Regions from separate parts of the Homo sapiens genome. Here all the other regions are linked to region 1. Evidence: promoter capture Hi-C in 16 types of primary human blood cells and fetal thymus (Javierre and others, 2016). All regions are on one chromosome and are shown on one strand. The core of a region is centred on a gene start or on the middle of the fragment in contact, and the rest is flanking DNA. Distances in the headings are between cores, read along the strand shown.

Evidence for each region. The method cuts DNA at HindIII sites, captures the fragments that hold promoters and counts their contacts. A CHiCAGO score of 5 or more calls a contact.
Region 2: a contact is called between a fragment that was not itself captured here and the fragment with the promoter of OLFML1 in region 1, in 2 of 17 cell types (monocytes and naive CD4 T cells). The highest score is 5.9, in monocytes.
Region 3: a fragment that was not itself captured here is called in contact with the fragment with the promoter of OLFML1 in region 1 in 4 of 17 cell types (monocytes, non-activated CD4 T cells, naive CD8 T cells and 1 more); the score reaches 6.0 in monocytes.

Annotation. Positions count from the first base shown.
Region 1 is chr11:7,483,722-7,487,554 of GRCh38, reverse strand. OLFML1 (olfactomedin like 1) reads right to left here and starts at 2,049. Exons shown (of 3, transcript NM_198474.4): 1 at 1,551-2,049. The coding sequence starts at 1,679. RefSeq lists an enhancer at 1,868-2,372. The HindIII fragment of the contact is 6,703 bases long and covers 1-3,833 here.
Region 2 is chr11:7,646,681-7,651,041 of GRCh38, reverse strand. It overlaps PPFIBP2 (PPFIB scaffold protein 2), which reads right to left. Exons shown (of 24, transcript NM_003621.5): 18 at 2,505-2,655; 19 at 2,131-2,242; 20 at 1,807-1,895; 21 at 1,388-1,510; 22 at 77-202. Among named protein-coding and RNA genes, the nearest start is that of CYB5R2, 25 kb to the left of the region's middle. RefSeq lists an enhancer at 1-169. The HindIII fragment of the contact is 1,881 bases long and covers 328-2,208 here.
Region 3 is chr11:7,689,883-7,693,697 of GRCh38, reverse strand. It overlaps OVCH2 (ovochymase 2), which reads left to right. Exons shown (of 16, transcript NM_198185.7): 13 at 1,703-1,796; 14 at 2,298-2,429; 15 at 3,685-3,774. The coding sequence ends at 3,743. It overlaps LOC105376533 (a long non-coding RNA gene), which reads right to left. Exons shown (of 11, transcript XR_007062576.1): 3 at 2,206-2,420; 4 at 1,145-1,717. Among named protein-coding and RNA genes, the nearest start is that of OVCH2, 15 kb to the left of the region's middle. RefSeq lists an enhancer at 1,485-2,684. The HindIII fragment of the contact is 1,796 bases long and covers 989-2,784 here.

The DNA.
Region 1 (3,833 bases), core at 800-3,299:
TAATACTATTCAATAAATATTTGCTGAACAAAAGAATAAATGAATGGAAATGGGATTGCTTGGTCAAAGAGAATGTCTACTTAAAGCTCATTTGGCATGGTTTATCAAAATTCTATCCACAAATGTAAAAATGTATGCTCCAAACAACAATACGTAAGGCTGTTTATTTTGAAGGGAGAAAGACAGAAAGAGAGACCCAAAATAATTCCCTAAATCCCTACCCTCTTTTTTCCTACCCCTCCGACACTGGCTTCTCAGGCTGGGAATGCTATCACTGTATTGTTAAGTGTCTGCGCTGGCCAACAGTGACTGCCACCTGCGACTTGGCTTCACCTCAGGTCAGGACTGGGGTGGGAAGATCTATACAGATCATATCCTTGTCTTTTTCAAATCCACATTCATAGCTATAAAAGGATCAGTCTGTACTTCATACCCTTGACAAGTTCTTAAGGTAGTGAAAGACAATTTGCAGGGATTTGGCTGGCTTTACTCCCAAGGCAAGTCGGTGCTAAATGCAGAGGGATCCTGACTGAGCATCATTCTGGCACTTCTAAGGAGGTGAGGCTCAGGAGGGAGCAAGTGAAGAAGCGCAAGAGGCCGCTCGTCTGGGAACACTTCATCCACTGCCTCCAGGCCCCAGCCTGTTGGCTGGACGCCCTTAGGAAATGCATTCGGCCTGCTATGTGGAATTACTTTACCCTGACTATAACTAGAAGAACATATAATTTGGACATGAAGATTTTTCAGGAAAATGTATAAAATAATTATTAGCAATAAGAGGGTCTTTGAAAGAAGATAAATAATTTATCAATTTAGCTTGTACAAAAGCAAGCCATTAAGTATGAATAATCAATGCCAGGGTGTGGCAAAGGCTAGGGTGGAGGGTTACATTTGTCCCTGGGAGCCTGTCCAGGCTGCCAAAATGTTGGGTTTTGCACATTTTAATGAGGTGGCAGCCCAAATGCATTCTTTCTGTTTAACTTGGCTGAAATCTGCTCACTTCTAAGTCTAAATCCAGTTCAGCAAAAGAAACTAAGACTTCTCAGTACATTGATATCATGACTTTTTACAGTGACCTAATGGTTTATCATAAAAGACAAAACGAAAAGCTGAAATCCATTATCAGCCTGAAACACTAAAACATGAAGAAAAAGTAACCAACATTTTTAAGTTTCATATTTTAAAAAATGAACTATGGTGAATAATAACATTTTAGATACATACCATTATGCCAGGCAGTATTTTAGCTATGGATTAAATCTTCAGGATAGCCTTACAACATAAATTCTACTATTATCCCCATTTTACAGATGAGACAAACTGCCAAATCAGAGCACAAAGTGCAACTGTGCTTAAGGTCTGGAAGTAGCACACTGGACTCTGGAGTTCGGCTCTAAACTGCCAGACTATGAGCATTTTAAAGTGTAACTTTGGCAATGTGTCATTTGCTATCTGGGAAAAATACAACCCAGTAGATAGAGAAGCATGGGTAAAAATAAGGTACTTCTGGGAAGCCTGTTACTTATCCAAGGTGTACAGATGCCACCTACCTCCAAGACTCGAAAGCGCTGGTAGATGTAATGCACCATGGCTGGGTCCTGGGTACACTGCGGCGGGGGCAGAAAAGCTGCAAGGAACAGAACCAGCAATGCAGAAGCTCCTCGAAGGGCCACCATCATCCTGCAAAACACCAAGCAGGGCAGTCTCTTATGCTGTGGCTCTTCTCAAGGATGTCTCAAGGGCTCCGGTGGTGCTCTCCTGCTCTATCCGCTGCTGTGGCAAATCCTCTAAAAACAGCGTTTTGCACAGCAGAGAGCAAAGTCCGCTTGTTATTCCACCCGATACGTGAGCTCAGTTTGCCAGCTAGTGATCAAGTCCAGCTGTTGGCAAGTTGGTCCCTGAGGCCTTGTAGACTGACCTGTGGCAGAGAGCTCCCTGGGTCCAGCATCTGTTGCCCTCACCCTTGACACATGCGGACCCTCCCCAGGCTAGTGGTTGCAAGCTGCTTCCTGGCTTAATTGTGTGTGCATTGGGGTGGGGGGTGAAGATGGCTTCCCCCCGTTCCCTTCCCCCAGCTATTTCCTTTTTACTTTTGCTTTCCTCCTCCCTAGTGGATTCTGCAGTCCAATCGCAGGCCTTCCCCAACACAAACCACCCCCAACTTTTTAAAGTTGGACTCTCAGTTTAGTTTCTGGCAAAAATTCCCAGGATCCTTTTCCAGAAGTCCTATTGGGAGACCCCACCCCTCATCCAGACTCCCTTCACATTCCTGCAGCTCTTAAAGGCACAGCCAGGAAAAATAAACATGGATCTACCACTATCTCTGAACAGCCAGTGCACAGGGCTACATCGCCCCTTGGGCAGAAAGGTACAATGGGCTACAGGCCTGGCCATCCAGGCTGTCAGCTGAAACATCTCAGGATGGAGCTGAGAATAATTTGATTAAGAGGAACAACAACAATCATTGATACAGTGATGCTTCCAGGGTCAAGCCATCAAAAAGTGAAACGCCTTTGTAAGGAAATCCTTGAGTTTTCTCAATCACTGGAGGCAGAATTCCCTTCATGTAGCTGCAGGCCAGAAATATGTAGGACTAAACTCCTGCAGGCCCTGGTCCAATTGAAGATAAATTATAACCCTAGGACAAGGTGGTAAAATCTTTGAATTTGTCTGTGCAGTCCAGCCCTCTTCTTATCTCAACCTGCCTTTCCATGGGAAAGGCCAGGACGCCTTGGGGTTCTTTCTCAATCACCTGCCAAACTGAGAAAGGCTGGGGCATCTATGGAATGTGAAAAGAATGCTCTCCAGGAGTCAGAAGGCCTGTGTTTCCATTTGGTCCTCACAAGAGACGCTAATAGATACCTTTATCAAAACATTTCACGTACCCCATAAACACCTACTATGTATCCACAAAATTTTTTTAAAAGAGACACATAGACTGAGAATTTTCCACTGGTGGTCCTTAAACTTCCTTATGCCCGGTAATATTTCTCCCCACCCTTCTTCCATATGGCCACAGCTCCTAACTATTCCTCCTCACCCTCTCGGTAAAAATCCCAAACAGTAGTTCATCATCCTTAGAAACAATTCCTCATATTTCTTAGAACCATCTTTGCACTATTCCCTAAACCAGTTGAACTTCAGCTGACCCTGCCTCCTAAATCCTTATTAAAAATTCTGTCTGGCTCACGCTGCTTCTCCAAGTGAGAATATTCTCTCTGAAATTACTCATGCCTAGCATTTTTGAATAAAGTCTTAAGGGTGCTCTAGTTGATTTACTTCCACAAATGCCTCAAGTCCTAACTCTGAGACTGTGAACTAAGATGGATAAGGTCCAGTGGAGGAAAACTCTGATTGTATCTAATTAACTTTTCGGTGGTGGTGGTGTGGGTAGTTCTTTCCTGGGTTTTCTAGAGCATGCTTACATTACTTTTTCAATGAAATACACATGCCATACTTACAGAGTCTAAAGAATTACTGGAGAGTCTGTAAGGGGGAAATGCAGTGGGAAGCCTCGGTTGCAGCAGAAGTCCTTGAGGTGCTTTCAGGGCTGCTGTTGCTCTTATCTCTGTGGAGTGGGCTCCAAAGAGGTTGGCTCAGGACTGGCAGGCACCATCTCTGCCCACCAGTGATTCAGGCCCAGCACCACTTTCTCTGCGGTCACCACCTTCTTCAGAGGGACACTCCTGGCCTCTCAGCTCTGACTGCCCACACCTGGTCTTAACTGGAGAGCTTCATTTACTTTTTGTAATCCCAAACAGGGACAGCAAATCTCACAGCTGGAACCCATAACCCATTAGGATTGATGACCCATAGTTCAGAACCAGAGTGGA
Region 2 (4,361 bases), core at 19-2,518, 160 kb before region 1:
CCTTGTCCTTAATAAATAAGTTTCTGAATATCCCATTTGCACCAAGGCAGGTGGGCTAGGCCAGAGAGCCACTCACAATGAGGCCTCCATGGACTCCACTCCCTCGAAGATTGGGTGCATACTCTGCCAGGTCCACAGATCGTAACCACTCCATCACCCTGTGGTTGGACCACTGTACAACTTCTGAAGGAGAAAGGTTACTCTGTCAGAGGGAGAAGGAGAGTGAGGAAGTTAGGCTTAATAGGTCCCACCATGGTCCTCTGTGGAGTCAGCCCCGGTAAGTAACCCTGCCCCAGACGCATCACAACAATAGAAGGCCCTCAAGCTTAGTGACCCACCCCATCTGCCAGAGCACCAGCCTCCCCAGTTTCTAGGAAATAGAGCTCCCACTGAATCTTTGAAGATCTTCCACACTGAGATATCTGAATCCAGAATTCTGTTACTCCATCATTTTCCAGCTAACTTTGAGACAAATAAATGAGGACATTATAGTTATTCTTTCAGTGATTCAACAGAACTTTAAAGATGACTGTCAATTTTACAATCCAAGTGGTTTATAGATGAAAGATCTCCCTGGTGTGGCCAATGATTTTAGGGGAGCACACCTTAAGGTACTTATTCCTAAGTGCTCTCACGTAGCACTGTGGTCTTAAAAATGCACAGCGCTGTGCCTGACATATACAAGACATTCAAAACATGTTGGTTGAATAAGGAGAAAATAGGAGATAGACAGCAAAGGTAGCAGCCCAGGAAGCTGAGTTAATTTTACAGCAAGGTTAGACCTAGTTCCCAGGAACAGAGGAGATAGGATGTGACTGACAATCTTCAGTTTGGGGGTCCACCAAGAACTCCGAAGTTCATGGAACATAATCAGTTATTTCTTCAAGACTTGGGGTGCTGTTATTTACGTATACTATTTCTTCTCTAGCAAGACTACTCATGGATCCCCTGTACCTGGGCCTGGAAGTCAGTTAATTTTGGATCTACAAGTAGGGATACCTATTCTGAAATGTCTAGCTTCTACGGGCTCCTCTTCCCCCTCCTCTGTCTCTTCTCTTCTCTTCTACTGTGACACCCATCTTTCCATTTTGTCTTTCCCTCCCCCTCTCCTTTGCACCATCTCCTCATCTCCTTTAATCACTATGATGACTTTATAGCATGTGTCTCCCCAGTGGAGGGTGGGAGCTTAGAGGTCTATGGCTACTGTGAGACACAAAGTGCAGGTAACGGATGTTTGGGGCAACAGGAAGCACAAGCAAACAAAAGAATCCCAGGCACCATGGTGCAAAAAACAGTGCTTTTATGATGTCATTCTTGTTTGCTCATGCTCGATGTTTCAGGGGTCCTGGCTCAGGGCTACCTGGAGAGATACTATTTGTGGTCTCACCTCATCAGCTGGCCGCCGGTGCAGGCAGTGGGGGTTGAACTTGTTGACATGCAGCACGTGAATGGCACATTTGATGCTGAGATGATGTAGTTGGCTGGTGACTTTTAAGAAGAGTAAATCGTTCTGAAAGAGGAAAGTTTGGTTTATAAACCAGAGTTTCCAAAGTGACAAAAGACCCCTGATGTCCCTCACCAGACCAAGCATAGACAAGTCAACCACATCTCAGGAAGGTGCACGTGGAGACACCAATAGCTTATCACAGTGGTTTGTACTCTGCTACTTGGGACCTCTTTTGTGACAAATGATACTATTTCAAGGCCTTAAGAATATATGGAATCAAGTTTAAAATAACCACCATGGGTACACGTGAGCTGAGTGCTCACAGGGACAACTGAAATATTTAAAGAAAAAGTCCTCACCACAGTTAGGTATTGCAGCATTCGTCTGTCAACTCTAGATTCATGAAACTGGTCTTTGTACTGGGGTAAGCCAATATCATCAAGCCACCCTACAAATACAAAAACCCCAGATGTGTCAGGATTCATGAGAATGAGAGAATGTAGACACCAAAAAAAGGGGAGCAAATTATATTTTGAGGTTCGTTTTATTCCCCCAAAAGTTTAGTAATTCCTCTGCTTTTTACAAGGAGACAGCTGTCCTTGAGGTACCCATTTAACAGGAAAATTCTTTCTACTCTTAGTTGCTGCCAGAGACATTCTTAATACATATATGCCTATCCTTACTTGTCACCCAAATGTGGTCTAGCAGTGCAGACTTCTCCTCCTGTTTGGTGTTGATGGCTTTCACTGCTAAAACAAGCTTCTTCCTGTGGAGTGGGTGCTTAATTCCTAGCTCCTGAAATTAAAAGATGAAGACCACATGTGAAATTTTGGCAGGCAATTTGGCCCTCAGAGAAAGCTGTGTCTGGGTGGAGATGCTCTGAGTATGGCAGTGTATCTCCACACCGTGCCCTGGGATGCCAACCTGCAGCTACAGAGGAACTCTCAGCCTCCTCCATCCATCCTCCTGTGTGTATGTGTGACAGGAGTGGCGGACCCTGGCCTCCCCATGCTTTGGGGAGAAATGGGAGCCTCCTCTCCCCAAGCTGAGCCCTTACCTTTTCCATGTCCTGAGGGGTGGCTGTCAATAAGGTGTGGCCAGAAGATACCCACTGCCTGGCAAAGATCACATACTGAGCCAGGCCAAAGTCCTCCAGCCATGCACACACACGCTCTGTGCTCCACTGGGCAAAGGGGGCATTGGCGTCACTGGGAAGCAGGAAAACAGCATATTCCTGTTAGTGGGAGAGCCTGAGGTTCTGAATCTAATCATGTCTCACAAACAAAAGAAAAGAAAAGAAAAAACAAAACAAAAAACCTGTTTTTTAACAAACAACCTCCATCATGGGATTCTGCTGAACAAAATTCCACTACAACACACTCATAGGAGGTAGACCCTAGAGTTTTCTTAATAACACAAGATCTGAATTTCAAATCTCAGGCTACTTAGAGAATGGGGCAGCCTGTATGGCCCTCCTGAGATCATGTTCACATGTCCTAGGTCCGCATACACACATATACATGCCACAAGTCCAGAGCTGTGGCCTCATTAGGCGGAATCATCTTTTTAGGAAAATGCTTAGAAAACTACTTTTCTTAGCATTTAAGAGGGTCAGTTCTCTTAACATTAAAAAGAAAAAAAACAAAACACCCAAAACTAAAAGCAAAAACTTGCCAATCAACAACAGCTAGCACATTACTTATTAACAAAACAGGAGGAACATTCACATTAAAGTCAATAAAAGGACAATATATTTTTCATCAGTACTAACAACACTGGTCTGAGAGTCATAGCCAGTATTAGAGATAAATAAGAACAAGAAGTATAGCTATTAGGCAGAAATAAAGCCATTCTTTACAGATGTCAGGACTGCCCATTTAGAAAACCCAAGAAAGCTCAGTGAGGTGGCCACTTACGAAATACACATATAAACATATGTAACGTATGTTACATACAAAGATCAATAATTTTCTAATACCATCAATGCACAGATACTAATGCTACTGTTAAAACAATTTAAAAATCCCACTCATAGCAACCAACATTATAAAACGTCTAGGAATTGCCTTAACAAGAGATGTTTGGCCTTGTGTGATTATGTGTGGGGATTGCGGGGGTGGGGAGAGGTATTGACTGCAGCAGTCAACTGAGCTAGATAAAAAAGGACATGAATAAATGAAAAGCTAGATTATGTTCCTAGACAGGATGACTGGGTTTTATAAAGCCATCAATTCTTAAAGACATCCATTTTTCATTTAAAGTGTGAATAGCACACTAAAAATCCCAATAGAGTCATTTTTTTAGGGGGGATTCGACAGAGCAACTTTATGTTCATAAATGAGGATTTATAGAATATCGTAGATATTCCTTCAAAGACCAGAAAGATTCCTTCAAAGTACCCCTAACATATTAGATTAAAACATATTTTTTTAAATGCCTGGTTGAGCTGTTGTTAAAGTGAGGGAATTCCTCAAAGGATAAGCATGATAAGAATGCCCCATTTTAGATCAAATGTTAGAGATAATGTATACCCTGGGGCAGGGACTGATCAATCATAATCTGGAACCTGGGCTTTCATGGGTCCTGAAAATATTTTACGAGGCCTGGAACTTACAAACTTTCTCTTCAAAATAGTATAAAATTTGAATATACAATTAGAAACAAAGGGAATATTTAGAATTAGAAAACAAGCCACAAAAAATTGCAAGTTTTGCAAAACTGAAAAAAAAATCACAAAATCTAGAAATATTTCATTATATAAAATCTTGATGTACCTCTATAGTTTGATTCTTTTTTGAGACAGGGTATTTGTTATTTCAGAGATGGGGTATTTATTTTAGAGACAGGGTGTTAGTAATTAATTATTTTTAGAGATGGGGTCTGGCTTTGCTGCCCAGGCTGGAGTGTAGTGATG
Region 3 (3,815 bases), core at 637-3,136, 210 kb before region 1:
AAGTTCATCAAACCTAAACAGATTTGGGGCAAAAATTTCAGCAGAATTAAGGAAAATTTGTTAGTGGTGGAGGATAAAATTTAGGTTGTGAGCATGTTTCCAGGTGGAGGAAGAAGAGGAAATTTAGTTGAAAATCTGAAAATGCCAGAGCCAGAAGTGATTGAAAAATATCTCTTCAATAAGTAAAGTTTGAGTGTCGTGCATCAGTGAAGCGATGCTCTCATACTCTGCCAGTGACAGCATCATTTTGCAGAACTCGTGTAAGATAGTAATTTGGAAACTGGTGTTAAAAGTCATAGGAATATGCTCACCATTTGACTTGGAGAGAAAAGGGCCCCTTCCCAGAAAGTATCCCAGTAAGGGTTTAATAAATGTTTGAATGAATCCTATTTCTGATACAGGTCCCCCTCCCCACGCCTACCTTTACCATTAGTAATTATTTGCCTCCAGTTTTGTTTTATCCACACAATCCTTTCTGTTTCTTGCTCAGAGTCTGGGTCCCATTGAATCCCCATCAACTGTGTGTTAAAATTAGAGTTCCTATTTCATCAGCCCTCTCTCCCACCACTCTTCACTTCAAATTCAATTGGCTAGTGCTCACCAAACTGCTCCAAGATCACTCTTTATTGTTTCTTTGTTTCTCCTTCACACTGTTCCTTCTATCTAGATAGTTCCCCTCCCTTTTCCTGAAACAAAACAAGTGCCCCATGCAGGGAATGATACAAGAGAAGAAAAAAAGTAAATGCCTAAAGATATTCACTGCCAAGTTTTTAAGATAGCAAAAAATACAGGTCTCAAGGATAGAGATAAATGAAATATTATGCTGCCAATAAGCATCACAATTATAGAAACTATGAGAAAAGGTTTGTCATGATTTATTCTTGGTGACCCTAGGTTGATTCCAGGTGATCAACTTTCTTTTCTAGGTCATTACTCATCATAGCTTAATAATCTACTCAAGAATTTTGCTGAGGTTTACATTTAAGCTTAGTATCCAAAATCAGCTCTCTCTAACTCATACAAGGATTTCCTTTTTCATGCACATTCATGAGGCTCACTACATTTGACTCCGAGCCCACTTATGCAAATGCTTTCAGTAGCTCAGATGATACTTTGTTTTATATCAGCAATTAGACTCACTTACATCTGTGCCTTCTCAGAATTTTGCAGTGAGGCATGGAAATATAGTGGCAACAGGACAAAGCAGGTGAGAAGAGGAGCCAGCTATATCCCGCTGGGTAGAAAGACACGGTCTCCAAGGGGCACAACAAATTTCAGTCTTGATTCAGGAGAACTAGAGGTTCAAGATGAAACATCAGGAACCAGGTGAACAACACTAAGATGTCCAGAGAAGCAGTTTTGTGTATATGCAATTAGTTGAGTTGAGTGCCTAGTTGCTTCCAAGGAAAAAAATCCCCATGCGGTAGCTCTCCTAATCTCTTAGAGATGTTAGGAAGCTAAAATATTTGCACAGTTTCCTGCCCTTTGATTCAGGCCATATTTGGTAGCTATTTCAAAAAGTTAGAGCCTGTGATATAGAATCCTTCCCTTGGTAATCTGACCCACTCCTGAATACCCCATTAACTTTCTTATCTAAGGTCTTACTCCAGAACAAGTTGAGCAATCCAAATTTCTCTGCTGAATCAAAGTCAGGTAATTCATTCAGATTGTTTACTCTGGATGTAACTTCGTGTCTTCTCAGCTTTCATTTCAGAGTCTGGAAATAGAAGAAAGTGGAGACTGCACTTCCGACTATGTGACAGTGCACAGCGATGTAGAAAGGAAGAAGGAAATAGGTTTGTGTCCTCTGAGCCTCAGCTCGCTCTGGTTTGTGTTTGGACCCAGTCTTGAGATGGGAACGAAAAGGAGACAGATCAATCTTCCTCCATCTTCCTGCACCACCTCCACCCCTCCCTGTGGTCTCACCATCACTCCTTTGTCTTCTTCATTAGGGGCAGGAAGAGAAAAAGGGAGAATCAAAGAACCACTGAAACAGAAATGCAAAAGGCCCATGAGGAAACTAGGAGTCAGAAAGGGAAAGTTCCATTGAAACAAGTCCTGAGGCTAGAACCAGTTCCCTTAACATCATTGTGTGTGGGAGTGTTCAGGAGAGAAAACCAAATTGAAATGTCATGGGGTTAATTAAGGAGTGAGCTGCCTTTATTTAGAAAATGAATTGTGAAAAGCGTATTTCTCAACAATTACCTGAAGGATGATTTTCTTTTTTTCTTCTCTCCAATGCCATGGCTATCTGCTGGGTGCTTGACAATGTCATGCCTGGGCTGGCCTTCAACAAGCTCGGCTGTGTGGCTATGATGTCCCCACCCCTGTGCTGAGCCCCTCCAGCATCATGCTCATCAGCTTCCAATCAGATGAAAACGGGACCTGCAGGGGCTTTCAGGCTACAGTCTCCTTCATTCCTAAAGCAGGTAAGAAGATAGAGTTACCAACTCTTTGGTTCCCAGTTCTAATCCTTGTGATGTGAATTAGAGGTCTTTAGAGCCCAACACAGAGACAGTCGATTCTCACTATCTGCAGTAATTACATCCTATCAAGTCACCATGGACACTGAATAAGAGAATACTCAGCCATCCCTCCTAGGAAATGTACAAGGTTAGGTGCCTTCAAGGTACATTTTCATCAGCTGATCAGTACATAAACTTGTTTTATGTGTGTTTCTGTTTAAAGATATGTTATTTAATATATATTGCTGGTTCATTACAATGAATTCACGGCCATTAAATTCATGGCCAACAGCACTATGACTCATGTCTGAACAAAGCTTATCTAACACGTGTGTTTTCTATGTGAGGCACACCACAGAGTTTTGCACTTAGGAACACTAGACGGCACTTCAGCACTATGCTTGGGGCCATTTTAAAGGTTGAGGTCACCAATAAAAAGAACAGAAATGAAAAAAAAGTGCCACTAAATAGACCATGAAAAGGACATTTGTTTATAGGATGACGGCTGAAGCAAGAAGGCAAAATATTGCCTTGTTTTACCTCGTGTGGAAACGTGTGTCTAACAACATGTATTTTTTGTCACTCTTCACATGCCTATGAATGATCCTGAGGACAACATGAGTATCACTTTTGGAGCTATAAATAATTTTTAGTGAGTAGGTGAATTCACGTATAGGGAGTTCACAAAGAACGAGTGACTGTATGTCTGAATCCTGATGGCCAATCATTACTAGATGTGTAATCTTAAGAGTCACCTCAGACTCATTTTTTTCAACCCTACTAAGGGAAAACAATGCATCCCTAATAAGAATGTAGTGAGGATTAAATCAGATAAGATACACTTGGCCACAAGCAAGTGTGCAGTACATAACAGAGACATAGAAACATGAAATATCTTCACCAGTTCCAGGCCCTGGACATTCGAACTACCTAACCAGCTTCCTTACACATTCTCATACCCATGATTCTTCTTTCCAAACCCCACAAAGCCAATTATCTGCTTTCCAAGTTGTTCATTCTTTTTAGGTATTAAGCAGCTGCAGATGGCAAAGCCAGGTTATAGTTAAAATGCCCCACTCCTCATTTGAAATACCTATAGAGTCTAGCTGGCTGAGGTGCCCCAGAATTCTAACAATAGCTTCATAAATCATTTTCTGATAAATCTCCAACCCTGGCTGTCTTTGTGGAAACTGAGTAATTGTATCATACTTATACCCAGTATACCCAGATTTAAACATCTCCATATCAGAGGATGAATCAATGTTTCTGGAGACATGAGATGTGCCAAATGGAGAAACCAATGTTTCTGGTAAGCTGTTTTGGGGACCAATTGATACACACAGAGTATAA